Regions from separate parts of the Homo sapiens genome. Here region 2 is linked to region 1. Evidence: promoter capture Hi-C in human tissues and cell types (Jung and others, 2019). All regions are on one chromosome and are shown on one strand. Each heading gives the region's core, a stretch centred on a gene start or on the middle of the fragment in contact. The rest is flanking DNA. Distances are from core to core; before and after follow the strand shown. Region 1 holds the start of FOXA2 (forkhead box A2). Region 2 has its middle 150 kb from the start of LINC00261.

What was found. The method cuts DNA at HindIII sites, captures the fragments that hold promoters and counts their contacts. A contact is called where the count stands out against the background at its distance.
Region 2: a contact is called between a fragment that was not itself captured here and the fragment with the promoter of FOXA2 in region 1, in 1 of the 25 tissues and cell types used here (thymus).

The regions. Positions count from the first base shown.
Region 1 is chr20:22,581,478-22,588,751 of GRCh38, reverse strand. It overlaps FOXA2 (forkhead box A2), which reads left to right and starts at 4,180. Exons shown (of 2, transcript NM_021784.5): 1 at 4,180-4,560; 2 at 5,598-7,274. The coding sequence starts at 4,474. The coding sequence ends at 6,902. It overlaps LNCNEF (lncRNA neighboring enhancer of FOXA2), which reads left to right. Exons shown (of 3, transcript NR_109883.1): 3 at 964-1,230. RefSeq lists enhancers at 1,129-1,883, 1,884-2,639, 3,395-4,150, 5,575-6,147, 6,148-6,719. The HindIII fragment of the contact is 10,630 bases long and covers 2,502-7,274 here.
Region 2 is chr20:22,428,405-22,435,377 of GRCh38, reverse strand. No RefSeq gene overlaps it. Among named protein-coding and RNA genes, the nearest start is that of LINC00261, 150 kb to the left of the region's middle. RefSeq lists a cis regulatory region at 4,488-4,499 and an enhancer at 4,422-4,566. The HindIII fragment of the contact is 3,938 bases long and covers 907-4,844 here.

The sequences.
Region 1 (7,274 bases), core at 2,931-5,430:
ATCTTGCGGTGGAGAGATAAATTGCATGCAGGTGCACACAGTATTAAACTTAAAATGTTGCACCTTGCCTCCCCCTTTATCAGCATTTTCCTGAGCCTTTGCTGAAGGCTGCAACATGCTGAATTTTTTTATTCTTTTACATAAATACCCTCTGATAAGGTGTTCTTAGCTAATGACCTTTTCAATTGCCCTCTCCGTAAACAACTGGTCTTTTGACCATCCAAGAACTTTGAAAGCCAACATAAGTGTTTGAAGGTGTGCTCAGTGCCAAGTAGACAAATTTTGATGGTCTAATTTTTTTTTTTTTTTTTTTTTTGAGATTGAGTTTTGCTCTTGTTGCCCAGGCTGGAGTGCAATGGTGCGATCTCAGCTTACTGCAACCTCTGCCTCCCGGGTTCAAGCGATTCTCCTGCCTCAGCCCCCGAAGTAGCTGGGATTATAGGCATGGGCCACCACATCCTGTTAATTTCGTATTTTTAATAAAGATGGGTTTTCACCATGTTTGTCAGGCTGGTCTTGAACTCCTGACCTAAGGTGATCCGCCCGCCCCGGCCTCCCAAAGTGCTGGGATTACAGGCATGAGCCATTGCGCCTGGCTGATTTTTCAGTACATTTCAGAAATAATAACCCACCCAAAGAAAGTGAAATGTTGATTATAATCTTTGACACACGATATGCCTTTTCTTCATTGAGACTTGAGATTCATCCAGAGAATGAATAAGGGGTGTTTGGACATCTGCTTTTTTACCAATTAAAAAGTTTATAAGAAAGTAAAAATGCATACTTTCCCAAGACTGTGCTGTCACTTTTCCATCCCCTCTGCCTTCATCTTGCCTACATATCTGCCTTATGTTGCCCTAAACACGCTGGGGAACTTTGAGCAAGGCCTTGCCTGGGTATTTATTCTCTGAAAGGTTTTAGGAATTGGAGTATTAATGGGACTTTTATTGTTTTTCTCCTTAGGTATTTCATGGGTTCTCACTTAGGAAAATTGAGTTCTGTTCAATGATGCCCCTTCTGCACTGGTTGGTTTCATGTGACAAAGAGAGCTCTAGGGAGGACTTTTGCTAGGGGAACGCAGATTGTTCCAGCAAGATGAAGGCCTAGGAGACCTGGATGGCCTGGGTGTTTTCTTCCCAGGGAGAGCAGAGGAGGCCTGGATTTGAACTCGAGTCTTATGACTTTGCCATTGAGGCAACATCCAAAATAAAAATAGCATGCTAACCCCAAGCACAGTCCTCAGTTATAAAGCAGCTTTATTATAGAAGCCGGCGGTGACCTAACAAAATGGAAAGGGAAGGGCTCTGTAGGTCTCGGCCCTACATGAGGGTAGACTAAAGAGGGATTGGGAGAAACATCTGCAGCCCGAGGTCCCCGCGAACTTTTTCCTGGAGAGAAACTCCGGGAGCAATCTTCAGCATTCAAGCCTGAGCCAGAACTCTGGATAGCCCTTTAGAAATCAGAACTCCGGGAAGGAGGAGCTCCAAAGACCGCTGAGCTGGAAGGGAACGCGAACCCCAGGCTGTCTGAACGTCCCTGCTTCCTTCGCAGCCCGTTGGTGTCCCGCTCCCAGCTACCTAAAGCTAACCGTAGACCCCGCTCGCATTCCCATGGGCAGGCGTGCCGGGAGGGTGCGGGAGCGGCTGCTCCGAGACTCTAGGAGGCGTCATCCAGCCCTACCCTACCGGAGCTCCCAGAACCTCGCCAGGGTGCAGGAGGCCGTTTTGGGTTCGCGCAGAACCTAGGGGTTGGGGCTCCAAAAAGGCCGAGTCCCCCCGAAGGCGTTTTCGGAGAGACTGGGAGAGCGGGGGAGAAGGTGCTCCGGTGCCGGAGCTGCGGGGTTGGGATCGCGGGGGTAAATGAGGACTCGGGTCGGTCCCGCGGGCCTGGCGGCCGACAGGGGGCGCCCTGTCACTGTGGAAGCCCCCGCCGAGCGCTCTCTGGTGTCCCTGACCCCGGCCACCAATAGTGCTGTGGTGGAGGTGGGGGCTTCCAAAGTCCGCTCCTTGGAAGTGTAGCGCCCCCTTCTCCTGCGGCCCTCCAGCTCGCTCCTTCTGTTCCTGGAATAATTTCTGGGACCAAATTTCCACCCAGGAGCAAAATAGAAAGGGAAGTGGGCACCCACATAAGCTCACAAATACTCTCATACAGCACACGCACAGACTAGGTCAACCATAACATTCTTTTGAGTTTTGGGGGTGCGGTGTGTGTGTGTGTGCGTGTGTGTCTGCCCAGGCCTGCGGAGAAAGCTTTGAAAAATTGCTCATTCTTTGAGCTCCAATGCTTACTCCTCTTTCCCTGCCCTCGGTGGAGTGATGAAGTTGCTCCCATCCACGCGCTAGGTGGGACCCCGTGGGAAATGCTGGGGATCTAGCCCCTCTGACTCCGCTGCGCACACCTCCACGTTCACTACGTAGCCGTACACACCATCAAGCTCCTTCCCTGGCGCACCGGGCTGGCCTGCCCCTCGTGGGAGCCTTCAGCACTCGGGGGACCGATAGGCACGGCTTCCGCGGAGATACAGACCTTGAATTTGTGGGAGAATCCCGCCCTGGCGCTCACTCGGCGGGCTTATTAATGCCCTCTTTATGAAGTGTCCAAACCATCTGCATTTCAGCAGCAAAAGATGCTGCCGGCGGCTTCCTTCTGTGTCCCAAACCGTGCAGACCTGAGAGTCCTGGGGTTAGGGAAGTGGTTCCCCTGTGCCTACTGCTACCTCCTCGCTTGCCTTCCAGCCTCACCCTTACTCAAGCTTCAATGCGAAGCTCCGTGTCTGCCATCTCGCCTGTCTTCTGCCACCATCGCCCCCAATTTTGGACAGGTGGGCTGGATGCCCACTAGTTCCTATGCATTCTCTGTGTCTGAGGGGGTGGGTACAGGGCTGGATCCCCAAGGTCCAGCCAGGTTTTCAGAACCAAGAAAGAGCCTCCACATCCAAACACCTGCAATATCCCCCCACTCCAAATCTGGGCTCACAGGCTAACCCAGAACAGAAGACAATTTTTGAACCCAAGAGCTGCTGGGGAAATAAAAGTATACGATTGCTGGAGTTTCTAATTTCTATTAAGCAGTCCCTCTGGAAGACAGAGAGGACAGAGACGCTCTTGAAGTCAACTCCATATGCCCCATCATTGATTCCTGGATTCTTCTCTCCTCACCCCTCCCTCCCCACCTCCTGCCCTGTTTGTTTTAGTTACGAAATGCTGTGGGCACCTCGGTTGTGACTGAAAAGTAACCTTGAAACACGCCGGCCTGAATATCAGAGACAAATCTCAGCCTCCCAACCGTCGGCCGCTGCTAGAGGGGCTGCTTGCGCCAGGCGCCGGCCGCCCCACTGCGGGTCCCTGGCGGCCGGTGTCTGAGGAGTCGGAGAGCCGAGGCGGCCAGACCGTGCGCCCCGCGCTTCTCCCGAGGCCGTTCCGGGTCTGAACTGTAACAGGGAGGGGCCTCGCAGGAGCAGCAGCGGGCGAGTTAAAGGTGTGTACGTAGTTTTTCTAAATAGGACAGCGCTTTGCAAATTGGCTGTCATGGACTTGCTGTTTTGACAGAGAATGAGCACTGAGAGCGAAGAAACCCGGCATAAATAAATCCGGCTTTCATAGGGATCTGCCGGGCACTGAGGCTGGACGCGCCCTCCGACAGGCGCACCGGGCGCCCGGCGCGATGAGACGGGGCGGGGGCTGGAGGCCGGAGCCGCCCCAGAGGGTGGTTTCCTCCCAGGTCCCTCCTTCCTCAGGGGACTCGCTGTGGACCCGGGAGGAAAGGGGGCTCGACCAGGGATCCCGCGTGCCCGATCGCCCGCCCAGCCCGCTCCCCTGGCCCGCCCAGGAGTGCGGGGCGCCGCGGCGGTGGGGCGGACGGCAGGCGCTGAGGGGCAGGTGCGGAGCGCCGGCTGCGGCTACCTCTCACCTAGGTGTGAGCTGATTATTCAAATGGGCTGCCCCGGGTCTGGGGATTGGAGGCCCGCGCCAGCGCGCCGCGCTATATCACCAGCCTCCCACGTCACTGCGGCACTTGTCCGCTCCGCGGTCCACACCTCCTCCTCCTCCTCCTCCTCCTCCTCCTCCTCCTCCTCCTCCACCACCACCACCGCCTCCTCCTCCTCCTTCCTCCTCCTCCTCCCCACCCCCCCACTAGCCCCCGCGCCGCGCGCTTCCCGCCGCCTCGGGGCAGCTCGGCACTGCCAACCTCAGCCGCCACCCGGCAGCCCGTGAGCGCGGCGGCGGCGGGTGCTCCCTACCGCGGGGCGCTGGCCTGGGCCTCCTCCGCTCCTCGCCCCCCCCCACCTCCCGCCCACTTCCAACTACCGCCTCCGGCCTGCCCAGGGAGAGAGAGGGAGTGGAGCCCAGGGAGAGGGAGCGCGAGAGAGGGAGGGAGGAGGGGACGGTGCTTTGGCTGACTTTTTTTTAAAAGAGGGTGGGGGTGGGGGGTGATTGCTGGTCGTTTGTTGTGGCTGTTAAATTTTAAACTGCCATGCACTCGGCTTCCAGTATGCTGGGAGCGGTGAAGATGGAAGGGCACGAGCCGTCCGACTGGAGCAGCTACTATGCAGAGCCCGAGGTAAGCGCTCGTCTTTTCCAGGGGGAAGTGGAGCGGCGGCGCTCGCTCCTTCCCCAACCTCAGGACCGCTTCCCTCGCTGGCACCCCCCCACCCCGCCCCACAACCCCAGCCTTTCTGGGCAGCCGCCTTTTCCGCCCTCCTTGGAATCAAATGGGTCTCTTTTTTATACGACACACTGTTAGCCTTGAGATAATATTAACTTTGTGATCAAATATTGACTTGCGGCGCCTCCAAATCCTCTTCGTGGCCGAGCCACGCACTATCCTAACAGAGTTATGTTTGGCAGCGCGCGGCTGGGGAGGGGTGGGAGGTCGGCCGGCGAGGGGGTGGGGAGCTGAGGAGGAGAAGATGGGTAGGAGTTGGGGGCTGAAGTGGAGGCAGAGTCAAAGACTAGTGGACAAAGAGAAAGAAAGTTTTTGCCTGCAAAGCTCAGCCGCGTGTGGTTCAGGTCTCGGTTCTTTCCCTATTGCCCCGTTCAGTGCCTCCAGCCGCCCCCGCACTCCGCACAGGCACTGCCTTGCAGTTTCCCTGGGACAAGGGAGGGGGTCCCTGGAGGGAGACCGGACAGAGGGGGCCCGGGACAGTCTTCGCTGGAGGCAGCCCGAGGCGCCCCGCGCGTTGTCCCGCAGGTTGCTTGCTGCGACCGGAGGTGGCGTCCGGGGACTTCGGGCCTCGGCGCCAGCTCAGTATGCTGGTGGGAGAGTTTGGGGAGACTCTGGGGTAGGGGAATGTATTTGGGGTGCTGGCTTGGGAGTACTCCATGGGACCCCTGTTCTAGAATCTGGGCGAGGTGGAGAAGGGCTAGGAACGGGCCACATGCCCAAGCAGCAATCCGCTCGCCACCTTCCCAAGGGCGATCGATCATGACTCTCCCTGAATGAAACAGACTCGGAGTCCGGAGACTGGGCCATCGGGGACGAAAGGGCTCCCCGGAGGCCTCCCCGGACGCGGAGGCCTGGGCGGTGGGTGGGAGGTCTGGGCACCCTCCAGCCGCGGTGCTAACGCTGTCGCCTCCCTCCCGGGGCTCTGTCCGCAGGGCTACTCCTCCGTGAGCAACATGAACGCCGGCCTGGGGATGAACGGCATGAACACGTACATGAGCATGTCGGCGGCCGCCATGGGCAGCGGCTCGGGCAACATGAGCGCGGGCTCCATGAACATGTCGTCGTACGTGGGCGCTGGCATGAGCCCGTCCCTGGCGGGGATGTCCCCCGGCGCGGGCGCCATGGCGGGCATGGGCGGCTCGGCCGGGGCGGCCGGCGTGGCGGGCATGGGGCCGCACTTGAGTCCCAGCCTGAGCCCGCTCGGGGGGCAGGCGGCCGGGGCCATGGGCGGCCTGGCCCCCTACGCCAACATGAACTCCATGAGCCCCATGTACGGGCAGGCGGGCCTGAGCCGCGCCCGCGACCCCAAGACCTACAGGCGCAGCTACACGCACGCAAAGCCGCCCTACTCGTACATCTCGCTCATCACCATGGCCATCCAGCAGAGCCCCAACAAGATGCTGACGCTGAGCGAGATCTACCAGTGGATCATGGACCTCTTCCCCTTCTACCGGCAGAACCAGCAGCGCTGGCAGAACTCCATCCGCCACTCGCTCTCCTTCAACGACTGTTTCCTGAAGGTGCCCCGCTCGCCCGACAAGCCCGGCAAGGGCTCCTTCTGGACCCTGCACCCTGACTCGGGCAACATGTTCGAGAACGGCTGCTACCTGCGCCGCCAGAAGCGCTTCAAGTGCGAGAAGCAGCTGGCGCTGAAGGAGGCCGCAGGCGCCGCCGGCAGCGGCAAGAAGGCGGCCGCCGGAGCCCAGGCCTCACAGGCTCAACTCGGGGAGGCCGCCGGGCCGGCCTCCGAGACTCCGGCGGGCACCGAGTCGCCTCACTCGAGCGCCTCCCCGTGCCAGGAGCACAAGCGAGGGGGCCTGGGAGAGCTGAAGGGGACGCCGGCTGCGGCGCTGAGCCCCCCAGAGCCGGCGCCCTCTCCCGGGCAGCAGCAGCAGGCCGCGGCCCACCTGCTGGGCCCGCCCCACCACCCGGGCCTGCCGCCTGAGGCCCACCTGAAGCCGGAACACCACTACGCCTTCAACCACCCGTTCTCCATCAACAACCTCATGTCCTCGGAGCAGCAGCACCACCACAGCCACCACCACCACCAACCCCACAAAATGGACCTCAAGGCCTACGAACAGGTGATGCACTACCCCGGCTACGGTTCCCCCATGCCTGGCAGCTTGGCCATGGGCCCGGTCACGAACAAAACGGGCCTGGACGCCTCGCCCCTGGCCGCAGATACCTCCTACTACCAGGGGGTGTACTCCCGGCCCATTATGAACTCCTCTTAAGAAGACGACGGCTTCAGGCCCGGCTAACTCTGGCACCCCGGATCGAGGACAAGTGAGAGAGCAAGTGGGGGTCGAGACTTTGGGGAGACGGTGTTGCAGAGACGCAAGGGAGAAGAAATCCATAACACCCCCACCCCAACACCCCCAAGACAGCAGTCTTCTTCACCCGCTGCAGCCGTTCCGTCCCAAACAGAGGGCCACACAGATACCCCACGTTCTATATAAGGAGGAAAACGGGAAAGAATATAAAGTTAAAAAAAAGCCTCCGGTTTCCACTACTGTGTAGACTCCTGCTTCTTCAAGCACCTGCAGATTCTGATTTTTTTGTTGTTGTTGTTCTCCTCCATTGCTGTTGTTGCAGGGAAGTCTTAC
Region 2 (6,973 bases), core at 1,626-4,125, 150 kb after region 1:
AGAATTATAATTTGAATTTTCCTTTAGCAACAAGTTTTCTTTTTCTTTTTAGGCAATTAGTTAAGATTGGGTTATTTGATTTTAAATATATGAATGATAGCAATTTTATATACATTTATATAATTTGTATCTAAATGAATACATATGCTTCTATTGTGGGAGAGAAAAGTAAATTGATGTTACATTAGGATGTGGGTAGTGGGTGAAAAGTACTGTATATATCCCAGCAAACTCATCTTTACTTCTTAACAGTAATCCCAGACTTTTTCTGGTTAACTAGTTACATAGGTCTTAGGACTTTTGGAAAGACACTTTTTGCCTTTTTAATTTTATTTCACTAACTTCAGATCTGTTGCATGGGGGATGGGAAGACAGATTGCCAAGGCTGTGGTGTGGCCAGAAATGCCTCAGTTCTCTCTGTGCCACAGGGTGCAGCCCTCGAGGCAGGCATGACAGTGTTCCAGGGGCTTCTGTCATCCCGAGAGCCTGCCCAGGCACCCAGAAATCCTTCTGTGAATGCCTGACACCAGCTTAATTTGGGAACCACTCCTAAGAGCATGGAAATGGGCTTTGCTAGGCTAACAGACCCTCCAGGGAGGTCGACCATCTCTACATTTTCTCGTATCTTGAGTACCACTGACGTCATCAACAGAATCCCACCTCTGACTCCCAGTGTGCTGTTTGGCAAAGCTTCTGGCATTGGCGGAGGTGTAGATAGCAGGAGCACTCTCAGCAGCTACCACTGGCCAGCCTGTGGCTGTTTAGATTCTGGCTTAGCACCCCTGGAGTGTGACGGTCAGGGCCACAAAAGCACTGGGGTAGGACTTAAGCTCCGAACTCCCTGCTTGTGATCATGCCGCCCAGACTAAAGTACAGTCCGTTTCCCTCATTCACTCTAGTTATGTTCTATGAAGTTGCTGCAAACACTGTATTAGCAACCCACTGCTCCTAAAGGAAATATAGAGTTAAGTTCCTGCAAGCCTCTGGTCACAACATTTCCACAATGGATCCATACATTGTATTATGAGTGTTTCCACTTACTTAAATAAGAAGACACCTTATTTCCTATATAGGGTTGATTCATTTACCATGAAGTCATAGCAAACAGCAGTTTGAAGAAAGCTTGTCTAACACATCTTGTTTTCTCTGTAAGGTGCATCCCAGCTTTCCCAGGCTTAGGGACAATAGCCAGTACTTCAGCACCATGTTTGAGGGCCATTTTCAATAGTAAAATTACCATTAAAAAGCACAAAAATGTAAAAAAAAAATCATGTCACTGAATGGACTACAGAAGAACACTCATATATAGTCTGAGAGCTAAAACAGGAAGGCAGAATGGGAGCTTGTTCCACCTCATCTGAGAATAGGTACTTTGGATGACTCAAATTTTTGCCACACTATGCATGTCTGTGAATGGGTGCAAAAAGGCATGAATGAAGATGTGGGGGTTCCAAACAAATTTTAGAGAATAGGTCAGAAATATGGAACTCATATTGAAAATAGACTTTACTAAAATATAGACATTAGAGCAGCGGGAAAGAGGGCTCAGAAACAGCTGTCAGAATACATGGTAACAGGTATGATTAACCTCTTGAATAATAAGAAAAATTCTATTAAGAACCTAACTTATATAACCTCACAGCACATGGTTTTTTAAAAATACGATTGCTAGATGACAGCGGTGATCAACTGGGTATTTTCTGAGCTAAGCAACAACTTTTGCATTCCTTTTTTTTCTGTTAACAGTACATATTCATTAAGAAATAAAGATTTACAGAATAAAGTATAGCATAGACAGTGGATATTTCCCTGATCCCAACCCCAGAGGTGACCATAACTGACTGACTGGAGAATTTGCTTTCAGAATGTTTTCCATGGATAGCCCTATGTGATTATTATTTTATAAAATGGGGATGTTTCTCTATGGTTCTTTATTCACTTAAAATATCATGGAGAATTTTCTATTTTAGGCTAAGTGCATGAATCTTGGTACTTTTAGCAGATATCTAGCATATGAAATAGTTTATCTCAACGATCCTCTTTGGAAGGGCATTTGTGGTGTTTCAAGAAAGTCTGGAACATTGCTCTCTCATATAAAACTGCAATGACTGTGGTTGAACAGATCTTTGCAAAATTGCATGTTTTTCAATAGAAGGAACACACAGAAGTAGAATTACTAAGTGAAAAGGATATGACCATTTGAATATTACTAGTTAGTTTTAAAAAAAAAGTTTTTATCCATTTTGCTGTATTCAAATTCTGCTAGCCACTAAATACTCTCTAGTTTGAGTGTATTTCAAGTTTGAGGAATATTTTCAGAAACTTCAGGCACCCATCCCAGTGGTCAGAGGGCAATGTGTCCCCGTTACGGTTGCATCCAGAGTCCTGAGGACAGCCCCCTGGGTTGTTAGAGGACAGACCACCTGGCATATACTTGACCTCTCTGTGCCTTGATTGCCTAAAGTGGAAATGATAACATCCACTTCCAAGATTGTTGGGAGGATTAACATGAACGTGGAAGATTGGAAGTGCTTAGAGCATAGCCCACAGGAAGCATAGAGATTAAAGTGTCATTCTTTCACTGTTATCTCAAGTAACTAACAAGAATTCACTTTTACAGAAAAATATTGTTCTATTTCTAACTTGGTTTCATCTGCTAGACCACTAAGAGTTGGTAGAAGGATATCAGTCTTGCTCTCAGCTTTGCAGGCTGGCCCCAGTGACAACTGTGCAGGAATAGGAATATACCTTTGATTCTTGTTCTCTCTTTGAGTTACTCTCTGCCCTCTTCTTGGAACACCCTACCTTCCTCCCTAGCACTCTCCACCCTGTATCCTGATCAATTTCTTCTTAAATACTCCTTCAAGCCTTATTTCAATGCAATGCAGGAGTGGGGATGTACAGATGCCATCTAGATTCAAAGCACGAAGTTATAATAGGGTTATTGGGGTGGTGAAGATACTATGTGGTGGTCCTACTCAAAGCCCCCTCAATTTCAAGACGCAGCTTTCCTCCATGCATCTGAACCCAAGGAGGGTGACTATTAGAATTTGGTCAGCTTCAGGGCCCACATAGGCTGTCTTCAGCCATCTTTCCATAAATTACACTGATTTCTGCTTTCTCTTAATAAATCCTGCTGCTTCATAACAAACAGTAAAACCTGGTTTCTGAGTAAATGTTTGAAATATTTATTTTCTAAAGACAAATTGCAGGCATAAATGCATCTTCTTACCATTCCTTCCCCTCACTTTTGCAGCAGCTAAGCCAGCTCCATCTCCCTTTGTTTTGTATTCAAAGCACAAGAATAGTGTCCATGAATATCAGCTCAAAGAGACTGAAGGGATTTTAGGTGGAATATCTTAACCCCAGGAGTGTGGCCCACGCCAGGGTGGTCACAATGTTTGTTTAGTAGGTTGGGCTGGGGGTTGAAAACCAGAGACTAAAATGCTATAACGGCCTGGATTTGAGGGGTTGAAAATATTTCACATTTGGTACAGGCACCAGGAAACTACTTATTTTGCTTGAATGTCTTATTGTTCATTTGGTCAAGTGGGGTTAGGATTCAGGACATACTGGGGAGATAATTTTTATGCATCGATTTGAAATTGCCTCCAACAGCTCATAATACCAGCTGCATGATACTACATCCTGCACCCTACTCATGCCAGAGGAATAGACGGCTCCCTTAACACACCTGCCTTTCTTTCCTGGCTTTATTTTATTCACCAAGATAAGTAGGAAAGCAGATAGATTAGATAGATAGATAGATAGATAGATAGATAGATAGATAGATAGATAGATAAATAGATAGATAGATAATCAGATGGATAAATAAACATATAGATCAATGGATTGATAGATAAAATAGAAACATATTAGAAGATTTTTTAAAAATTTTTTATTTATAAGAACAAGACACCCTGAGTTATTCCTGTAAAGTTCAGAATGGGCAGAGAGTATCTCATTCTTAAATAAGAGAAGGGAGCTGAGAAACTTCTGTGCAGTAAAATGACTGTTGGTACTAAGACCTATGGATAATTTTTAAAGCATAGTAAGCTAACAAAAAAGTTATAAGAAACTGTTTGGAGGGATTTAAAATTTCAGGATTTTAGATACAAGAGAAGTATAGCCCCTGCCCCGAATGCTTTTATCAGGGCTTTCCAAGAGGAGCAGGCCAACCAAAGCTCCCTTAAAGCCAGCATCTGCCTCCAAAATCCGCCTGGAGTTTCAGCCAGCCTCTGCCACCAAAAGGAGCCAGGGTGGCGTGCACAGCTCTCATAAAAAGGTGCCAATCTGGGGTTTGGCCCGGACTAAATCCGACTGAGATAGAAAGCAGTGACCCTGTAATTGGACGACTTCCCCTGTGTCCAGACCACCATAGAGACTGCTGGGCTGCACAAGCTTCCCGGATCGCAGTTCACCAGGGGTCACCTTCATGCTGTGAGAACAAAGTCCGACTGAGCCCAGGGCCCCAGCTGCATGGTTCTGCTGTGTAAACACAGCGCAGACAACAGGACGACCAAATGTTAGGGTCCCTGTGTGATCCATTGTTGGATTATAGACATGGCCATAGACTCCGTTTCCAACTGCCCCTACTTCTCTCTTGTCTTTCTGTCTCCTCTTCTACCTCATTTGTTGGCTTCTAAACATCCTCTAACAGGACAAATCTTTGGCTGTTTTGCCTTTTTTGTTTTCCAAGCCAGGGTTCCCACTGCACCCCAAACAAGCCCAGTACTTTTAACAGGCACGGCCTCAGCAGAGGTGGCCCCACTGAGGCCTGCATGGTCACACGATGAATATTTTCTCATTTGTCCCCATGAACAAAACTTGCTTAAAATCAGGTGTGGGAGGAGGAGGTTAGGAAAAGGGCTGCCTCTCCTCTTCCTTTTAATCAACCAACTCATCTTTAACTGCCGCCATTCCCGTCCTCTCTGCCAGGCCCCGGCTAATAGAAACTCGGAATGCAGGTTCATACCCCTGCTCTTAGGTGTTCGAGGATGCACTCTGGGAAGCGCCGCTGCATCCATCACTGTCGGTGGCTACTTGAGAAACGCCGTGATGGACTGGCCCGGCAAAGCCCCTCCCCACTGCCCGCAGGCTGCAATTCAATTAGTCATGGTCAGAGGGAGGCATTATTATTCATACACCAACGATTGTTCCCAAAGTAAACAGAGCTGGGATGAGGTCTCTGATCCTCCCAGTGCCTTTAGCTGGGACACAAAAGAAAAAAAACTCCAGAGACACTGGGGTGGGACATTTGATCTGAATTCTGATCTCCTTTGCAAGCTTCCCCATCAAATCTTGTTGATTTCTTTCTTTGCTTCTTTCTTTTTTCACAGTCTTCACAGATAAGTGCCCTGTGTGTGCATACGCAAACCCAGCAGGGCCATTTTATTCCTTTATTGCCAACAATGCCAGAAAGTCTCTTCCACCCAGGACACCCCCCACCACTTTATAATAGGGACATGGATCCCTTAACTGGAGTGAATGATCCTGTTAGAATATAACAGACCAATAACTTCCTAATTCACAATAAATAATCCCTGTAAAAATAAAGGATGACATTTGTATTTTGTAAAGTGCTAACCAAATTGCCCGTGGCCTGGCCAGCCCCCATCTGTTTATCAGTTTTGCTGAGTACAAGTGAACCCAAGATAAATGCCAGTTTTCCTTGGATAAATTTTACAGCCAAGCAGAAACTGCCAAAGCACACAGGAGAGGTAAAAGCAGAGCTGTGTTCTCATTGACAGAAAAGTCAATTTTGCAGGATGGACTTAGGCAAGAGCCTGTGACCCCCGCCCCAACTCAAGTTTGTATGTTTATAATAGGGCTGTTTTCTCTGGGAGGGAATGAGCCAACTCCGGGAGCTGAAAGTTCAATGGAGCAGGCTGGCTGGGGCTTCCCAGCTGCAGGGGGAAGAAACAGCCCTGCCTGCTCACTCTGTTTTGCAGGAGTGAGCGTCATGCACCCTGGCCCAGACAGGGTGATAAACTTGGGGTGTCTGGATAACCCACATGCTCATTTTCACTTTCGCTGCATCTGACCCTCTGAGGATCACTGCACTGGGACACTTGACCAAGCCATGCGTTTAGACACAACACCTTAGCACCTCATTCTGCTCCGGAGAGCCTCAGAGCGTCCAGCTGATATGACGGAAACCCCTTGTGCAGAGTCACCTAGAGCCTTTAAGAAACATGAATTCTCAGGCCTGACCCCAGACCACTGAACCAGAATCTCTGGGGGCCAGGGCCTTGTCATTTGTGATTCACAACAAATCACTATGGGAGGCTGTCCAGACCCCCCTTTAAAGAAAGACTTTAAGGAATAAATCTCAGCTGCTAAGAGTTTCACTGGCAGACAGTTTTCACTATCAGCCCCTTCAGAAATGGGTCAGCTGTGGAGAGCCACCTGGAGCCCGTGCTCAGGCCCCTTTGGGCAGGTCATCCAGTGGCTGATAAATGGATGTGCACATAGGCTCTGTAGCTTGGCCCCACTCAGGACTACTCTGAAGGAACAATCCACTTCAGAATGCCCAGTAGTATCCACTGTGGCTCCCTTCCACAGATATTGGTCCCAGAGCCTCTCCTGAATAAATATCCTGCAAGTTAAACTCCATCTCAGAGGGAGAACCTTATTGCCAGGCTTGGAGAATGATGATCTAGAAAACACTGTTCTTGTCCAACACTCAACCCATCCATAAATTCTCTCCATAATATCACAAACAGCTGGGCACCTAGCCCCAGCCTGGCAAGCCAGAGGAAAGAATCCATCAGCTTCTGATCCAGTCCCTCTGGACAACACTGGGAGGAATAAGTTGGGCCCCTTAATTCTCTTGCTTTCCATAGAAAATTGAAGAGCCCTGGAGTTCTACTGCTGGCTCCACTATTAGAGATGGGTTGAATGATTCAAATTACTTGGCCTCTGTTTTTCCTCTGTAGAAATACAGAAATGGTGAGGGATTTTGGAGACAGAA